Regions from separate parts of the Homo sapiens genome. Here region 1 is linked to region 2. Evidence: promoter capture Hi-C in human tissues and cell types (Jung and others, 2019). All regions are on one chromosome and are shown on one strand. The core of a region is centred on a gene start or on the middle of the fragment in contact, and the rest is flanking DNA. Distances in the headings are between cores, read along the strand shown.

Region 1 (3,777 bases), core at 1,050-3,549, 1.9 Mb before region 2:
TCATCCACTTTGTTCTTCTATATGCTTACAAACATCCAAGAAACTTAGCCTATAGAGATTTATTTTCCACTATGAGTCTTATACAATCTCACTTGATATAACCAAAAGCCAAGATGAGCTTAAAGAACAGTCAAATATCTGCATTATTTTATAATAAAAAATATCCCCCATCACTTCATAAGCTTTATATTTTATGCTATGTTTTTAGTAAAACTATAGCTTTTTAAAATTTATTTAAAAATTCACTGATGAGTGAAAATCTTCCAAAGGGAACCAAATTTACATGGTTGTATAGAGAAATAAATATTGTTTATTATGGAGTAACAAACAAAATCCATATGAGGGTTGGTTGGTAGATGAAAGAGAAGTGATTTCTGAACAGTTGAACAACTGACAGTAAGTGGGAGGTGGTCCATAAATGTACTTTGGAACATTATTTTAATTGTTTGAGTCATTTCTAATTACCAAACTCAAGGTTAACTGAATGTTAGTAGGTTTCAAGCTTGACTTCTAAGGTGGACAAAGTTAAATATTTACATTTGTTGACAAGTGTTTATATTTTCAAAGACGATGAAAGGGATTTTCATATCCTCTCTCCTCAAGAAAAATAATCATAACTATTTATGTAATAGAGCTAACTAACCAATACCCCAGTCATTGTTCAGGAACAAATATAGTAGCTTGTATGAAAGTTGTTAAGTGAAACTTCATTCTGTGATCATTTATTTTGATATGTAAACTATGTTAGACTATAGTCTAAATTATTCCTTCAAATACTAGTCTAGTTGTTGCTATGTAGATATTTTAAGGATGTAATAAAAGTCTATAATCAATTGACTTTCAGTAAAGTTTACTTTAGATAATCTGGGTGATCTTGATTCAACTAGTTGAAAGAAAGTTCTTTTGTTTGTTTGTTTGTTTACTTTAGACAGAGTCTCGCTCTGTCACCCAGGCTGGATCTTGGCTCACCGCAACCTCTGCCTCCCTGGTTCAAGCAATTCTCTGCCTCAGCCTCCAGAGTAGCTGGGATTACACGCACCTGTCACCACACCTGGCTGCTTTTTGTATTTTTCATAGAGATGGGGTTTCACCATCTTGGCCAGGCTGGTCTTGAACTCCTGACCTTGTGATACATCCACCTCGGCCTCCCAAAGTGCTGGGAATACAGGCTTGAGCCATCGTGCCTGGCCGAAAGTTTGGCTTTTCAAAAGCAGAACTGAGGCTTCCTTCAGAGGAGAAATTCTACCTGCGTACTGCAATTTCAACTCATGATGAGATTTCTAGCCTGCCCTTCCAGCTGGGCTGCCCTTCAGATTTCATACTTGCCTAACCAGTATGCTCAATCATGCTAAACCAATTCTTCACAATAAATCTCTTGTTATATATCATTTACTTGCTTGACTCCTCTAGTTGAACACTGATTGATATAATTCTATATTGGAAAAAAATAATAATAATGGAAGAGAAAAGGAAGTTGCCATGATTTGGGAGCACTCCACCAGGCTGTGTCTACATATGCCAAAAGACTCAAGCCAGACAAATAATACATGTATGTGCATACACACATACACACACACACTCATGCACACACACACACACACACACACACACATCAAAAACACTATGTTCCCAAACTTCAAACTCCTATGTTTAACAGACCTGAAATTTCTGACAGACTTAATTAATCAAAAATATCAATGAAAGATAACTACATGACAGGAGACTAGGACTCAATAGCACATTCTAAATACTAAAGTCATTTGTAGAAGAAAGTAGTCATGCCACATTACTTACACCAAAGACATTTCACACTGTGATACAGAACAACAATCTTTAGAAAACAAACAAAATACGTCACCCAAAAGATGATAGATGTTGCTTGTCCAAGCAAAACAAGAGTGGTTTTAGTTTCTATTACACAAGTCAAATAATCCCATCACACTGATACAAGCACATGAGTACGTTTTTCAAACTCATGGACAATAATTTGTTAAAAACAAGTTGTATCTACACAAACTAATTGGAAACACATTCCCTACTTCCTTTCCTTACCTGGACTGCATATCTTGCTGGGTTTTGGCCTGGCTGGCTTCCGATGGAGGGGAAGCGTGAGTAACTCGCTGCTGAAGTTCCACCAAGGACTGATAGTACTGTTGTTGATGGTGTTGTTGCTGCTTGTAGCGAGATAAACTGAAAAACAGCCCTAGAATGGCTTTTAAGTTTCCATTTCTTATTTCTGTATGAAATGAAAAATACAAAAAAAGAATCATATGTATTTAATGTCCTTTTTAACAAATTCTAGATGCATTTCTCTTGAAATAAATCTATGAAGACAGAGATACAACTTAATTCTCTCAGTCACAGTTGAATCACAAACAAACCTGAATTTCTGAAACATGTTAACATTTCCAAATAACTTGGAATTTCAGGGAGAGAATAAAAGGATAGAGGGTAAAAAGAACAAAGCACACTCAGAAGTGATATTCTTTGCTGACCTTGAACTACAATTTTTCTCGAGTTAGCTGCTTCTTAGAAATAAATGAGCTCTCTCTTGTGCTAACCATTTGATTTAGCATGTTGATTCCCTCACAAATATACACAGCTGTTGCCAGCATAGCAGTGGCTACGAACTGGAGAAAGAAAGCCACTTAAATGTTGGTTGTCCTGCATTTATAAATATTGATGATGTGGGTGCACCTCCTAATACCAACTGGATTTGTTGCAATCAACTTTCTTTCTAAATCACCCACTCACCAACTCATTTATACATATTTATGTATGTATATATCCTCCAAATATATATCCATATATATCAAAATGTATGTGTAGGTATATCTTCCAAAAGCAGACATATCAATTTTTAATGTTCCAATTCTTTTATTTTTAATTTATGCTATATATTAATAAATAAGGAGGATTAGCTTACGTCAGATAACATAATTGAATAAGCAGAAATCCTTGTTCTAACAGATGAAGTTGCTGTGTAAGATTTTCAAATATTGAATAAAAAAATTCAATTCACAATGTAGGGTACACATAAGCCTACATTTTTCTCCTGTAGTTATAACTTAAAAAAATAGGAAAAGAGAAGGATGTAAAGCTTGAAAATAAGCTACACAACCTGTAATCATATTTTAAATAAAACTTGATGTTGGCAATAAAATGCATCCTCCTCTGAGATTAAGGTTTTATGTCCCCTTTTGGAGTTTAGGAAAATTAACCAACTCTTTGGATTTCTTGCTCTCTGATGGTTTATCATATAACTCAAACTATGCAGTAAAATAATTAATATAAAATGACCCTCTGAGTTGTTCTATTTTTCCCCCAAACATTTCTCATAGTTTTCGTCATATTGAAGAGTTGGCTTCATCAATCTGAGGCTACAGTGAGAGAGTGTTAATTTTCTCCTATAAACCTGAAAGATTTTGTTTAAAGAGTCTTTAAAAAATTATTGTTTTATTATTTTGCATGTTTAACTAATTTAGAGAGTAAATTTTGAGCATTCATGTATATTTTAAAGATGAATGAAAATCAATAGGCTGATATTAATAAAGGTTTTCATAAGGAAGAGACATAAAAAGTGAATAAATGGCAGCATTTCTAGCCTGTAACTACTTAGCAACATATTATCCTGGGGAATTTTACTCAAATGTTATTCGAAGTTACAGAACTACCAGTTAGGTTTGAACCTAAGCTTCTTGGTCATTAAATGTGTAATTTAATTATATATCATAACAAGCAAATATAAAAGAAATTTAAATATCAGTGTTCTCAAGT
Region 2 (4,074 bases), core at 82-2,581:
TTTCAATAAATGCAAGATTTAGAGAAGAGGTTCTCAAACTTTGTGGTCTTAGGATTCCTTTACACTCCTTTAAAAGTTGAGGACCCCAAAGAACTTTTATGTGCATTACTGATACTGATATTTATATCAGAAATTAAAAGTGAGAAATTTTAAGAGTATTTCATTTAAAAACAATAAAGCAATCAAATATTAACAAAAAATAATTTTTATATGAAAAATAACTACTCCCCCTTGCCCCCAAATCGAGTTTTTGCAAATCTCTTTAACGTCTGGTTTAACCGCAGATGACTGGATTCTCCTATCTGCTTCTATTTTCAGTCTGTTTCCTTATCACATGTCACGTAGCCTCCGGAAAACCCCACTGTACACTTGTGAGAGAATGAGAATGCAAAAGGCAGTCTTGACATTAATATGGAAATAGTTTTGACCTTCCCCATGAAAGGGTCTGGGGACCCTCAGACCATACTCTGAGAACAACTTTTTGAGTTAGTATTAGTCAATTCATCATCACTTGAAAATTAGCTATGAGGTTTTACAAGCCTGAGGATTTAATGTGATTTACTTTTTCAGAAAGATGAAACAACGGACGTACTGAGTGTCCTCATTATAACGCATCCAGAGAATGCACAAATATGCCATTTTCATCCGTCAAAAGAACTGAAGCCGAACTGACGGACTGTACATCAGTTACGAGGATGTGGCGGGGGGTTGGGGGGCAAAGGATGACGAGCACCCCCTAAAGGCGCGGAGACCCGCTGGCATAGGAGAAGCAAAACTGTCAGAAGAGGCCGCCGAAGTGGTCTAGAGGAAAAAACTGTTTTTCTTAGGCGGGGAAGGAAAACGGTTACCGGGGGCCGGCGAGTTGCAGGAATTAGGCCTTGACAGGGAGCGTCCGCCGTCTAGGCTGCGGCGAGCGAGGGACCAGGCGACTGGCGCCAGCCCTGAGCGTTCCCAGCACAACGCCGAAGGGGGCGGGGCGGGCCGGGCGCCGGGCACGCGGGCCAGGCCTTCCCCACAACTGATGGGGTTGAAATTTCCTTTCCGGCTCAGCAGGGAGAAAAGATATGGTGGGGTGCTTAACAGAGGAGGTTAGACACCGGCGGGAACCAGAGGAGCCCAAGCGCGGCGCCTGGGCCTCGGGGCTGCAGGAGTCCTCGGTGGGGGTATGGAGGTCGCCGGGGAAGGAGGACGGTTCAGTTGCTAGGCAACCCGGCCTGGACCCGCCTCTCGCTCGCGTTGCTGGGAGACTACAAGGCCGGGAGGAGGGCGGCGAAAGGGCCCTACGTGCTGACGCTAATTGTATATGAGCGCGAGCGGCGGGCTCTTGGGTCTTTTTTAGCGCCATCTGCTCGCGGCGCCGCCTCCTGCTCCTCCCGCTGCTGCTGCCGCTGCCGCCCTGAGTCACTGCCTGCGCAGCTCCGGCCGCCTGGCTCCCCATACTAGTCGCCGGTAACGGATGGGGGCCTGGAAGGGAAGGGGGAACGTGGTGTTGGCTGGGCGGCCTGCGCAGATGGGAGGGCCGGAGGGATGGAGGGACTGGGAGCCGGGAGTCGGGGCCGCTGGCCGCCCGTGGCCTCCGGGGTCGTCCTGTGAGGTCGGACAGGACCGCGGAGTCCGGACCCCGGAGCCTGAGAGGGGCCCCGGGGCCGACCAGCGCTTTTATCGGGGACGGCTGAGGCGACGTAGGGGTTGGCGCGGCCTGGAGGCCTAAGGTTCTCTGAGCTCCACCGTCTTTTCCGCGTGGACCGGAGCGAGGCCGCGGTGACGCCCGGGTGCCCTGAGACTCGGCTGCGCCGCGAGGACCGGGAGGCCCCCGGCGTACGGGCCGGGCCGAGTGCAGAGCCGGCCGCCTCTTGGACACCCCCCTGCTTTTCCCTCAAAAATAATACCAGGAGGGAGGCCGCTGGGAGATGAAAAGAACGGCGGAGGCTGCGAATTCCGACGGGAGGGAGGGGCTGTGGAGGGACGAGTCCCCGAGGCGGGGAGGGGGCGGGGGAGGCTGCGACGCTCCCGGGCTCTCCGCCCATTGGGGGCGGCCGCGCGGGGAGGGGAAACCCCCGGCGGCTTCGCTCCACACGTGGTAATGGGCTTCATGGCCACTGGCTGGGCCTGGTTGGAGACCCTTGCCCTCGGTCTGTGCTTACTTTGAAAGTTGTAGAGACGGTGGAATGTGAAAAGGAAGGGTAAGCGAGTAAGCCCTGTCCCTGGGTTTCAAACTCTTCCCTGCTTCTCTTTGGTCTTAATCTTTTTATTGGTACCAGAGATTGTGGATGTTAGCTGATGATAAGGAAGGGCCTCCACTGCTAGTATTTTAAAAAGTTAACGCGTATATAGCGCTTATATTAACTGTTATTAGCAAAAGGTTGTTATTGTGTTTCCCAGGTACTGTTAGATGGGTGTCTTGATCAGGGTTTTTTATTTGGGGAGTATTGATCCTGATCGATCTAAACCCCTAAACCAAGCTTGTCCAACCCGCGGCCCAGGACGGCTTTAAATGTGGCCCAACACAAATTCATGAGGTTTTTTTTTTTTTTTTTTTTTTGGAAAAAAAAGCTCATCAGCTAGTTAATGTATTTTACGTGTGGCCCAAGACAGTTCTAGTGTGGCCCAGGGAAGCCAAAAGATCGGACCACCCCTGCAAACGGTTCTTAGATGAAAATAAAATGTTTGGCCCTTTATGACTTTAATTGTTCTTGGCTGTCTTATAAATTAGTTCCTTTATTGAAGTCACTAGAATAAGATACTTAACGGTTTCCTTTTTAAGATGGGAGGTGGGATGGAATGAGGTGTTAGTATAAACTTTGCCAAGTTTGTAGCCTGCAACCTTGTCAATGAACCCTACTGCCCTAAAGATCTGGGGGATGGCAGTGTAGGGGGGCTGGGACTGAGGTCCCATCTGGGAAGGCTAGACTTTGAGAGTGCAAAAAGGATGAACCAGGCGCAGGATGTCCTCAAGGAGCCCGTATTTTAGACGGTCACTGATCAGTTTTGAAACAACTACATTTTAAAAATCTCACTGCTACATTTGAAGATATCCCACTGCTGCATTTTAAAATTTACACTGCTTGCCTGGTTTCACAAGAGCTGTAAAATGAAATTTGGCCTTTTGAAAATAGGTGGATTCAAAACATCTTTGGAAACGAGTATCTGGGTCCTCTTTTTTTGGTCAGCTTAAATTAATACTCCTATACTTTGGAAGTAATATACATTACCTTTGATTGAATAAGGGAAAAACCTTTTATGTATAGGGTACCATTTAAAAATCGAAGGGAAGTAAATGACTTTTACAGTTATTTTCAAGGCACTCTTGTGTTTCAAGCTTGTTTGAAGTTGCCCAAGTTTAAATAAATGGCCTAAATCTATAGTTTAGTTCTAAGAATACTGTCCTTTGGAGAATGTATGGAACTAAACCCTGGTAGGTGGACTTGGACATCTTCTGTCATAAAACCTGACTTTCATAGATTCTCCAAGTCAACATTATGTTAGTAAATAGAAATTTAAAAGTTTTCACTATACCAATTTGAATATCTTTCTAAATTTTATCTGCTACAAAGTGCCTATTTTTATATTAGGCCCATTGATTTGCAGAATTATAAAGCTAATACTGAATATGGTAAATTACTGCACTTGGCCTTTAATGAGATTTTTGAAACGAATACCTGTACCATAACTAATGTAATCCAAAATGCCATCTCATTTTATTCAGCTTGCTCCTGTTGGCTCCTGGTAAAACTGAGTTGATTCTAAATTCTCAAAATATATTCAAAACTAAGGGTCTTTTTGTAGAAGGGGCTAAAGAAGCAGTATCTGTTGGACTTCAAAGGTCTGAAGATGTCAAAATACAATATTTTATTCACTTCTTGGTTGTAAATTTGAAACAAAGGATTAGAGAGAATGACTCATCAATATCAAAATATTAATGATCAGTGTATTCAGATCTTCAAGTTTAATCAAACCTGTAATTGTGTTCTCAGTTTAGTCTTTGGGTAACTATCTAGCACCTGTATGGACATGTATCTTATGTCATGAGCAAAAGAGGCAAATTGGTTGCTTAGATGTAGAATGTTAAATTGT

The links. Contacts are between HindIII fragments. The study calls those that stand out against the background at their distance.
Region 1: a fragment that was not itself captured here is called in contact with the fragment with the promoter of NAP1L1 in region 2 in 1 of the 25 tissues and cell types used here (hippocampus).

The regions. Positions count from the first base shown.
Region 1 is chr12:77,966,978-77,970,754 of GRCh38, reverse strand. NAV3 (neuron navigator 3) reads right to left here. Exons shown (of 40, transcript NM_001024383.2): 5 at 2,053-2,236. Among named protein-coding and RNA genes, the nearest start is that of NAV3, 140 kb to the right of the region's middle. The HindIII fragment of the contact is 3,913 bases long and covers 343-3,777 here.
Region 2 is chr12:76,081,942-76,086,015 of GRCh38, reverse strand. It overlaps NAP1L1 (nucleosome assembly protein 1 like 1), which reads left to right and starts at 1,331. Exons shown (of 15, transcript NM_004537.7): 1 at 1,331-1,449. It overlaps LOC124902970 (a long non-coding RNA gene), which reads right to left and starts at 931. Exons shown (of 2, transcript XR_007063379.1): 1 at 849-931. RefSeq lists silencers at 897-1,056, 1,497-1,576, 1,717-1,766, 1,837-1,896, 1,947-2,016 and an enhancer at 1,060-1,601. The HindIII fragment of the contact is 10,371 bases long and covers 1-2,891 here.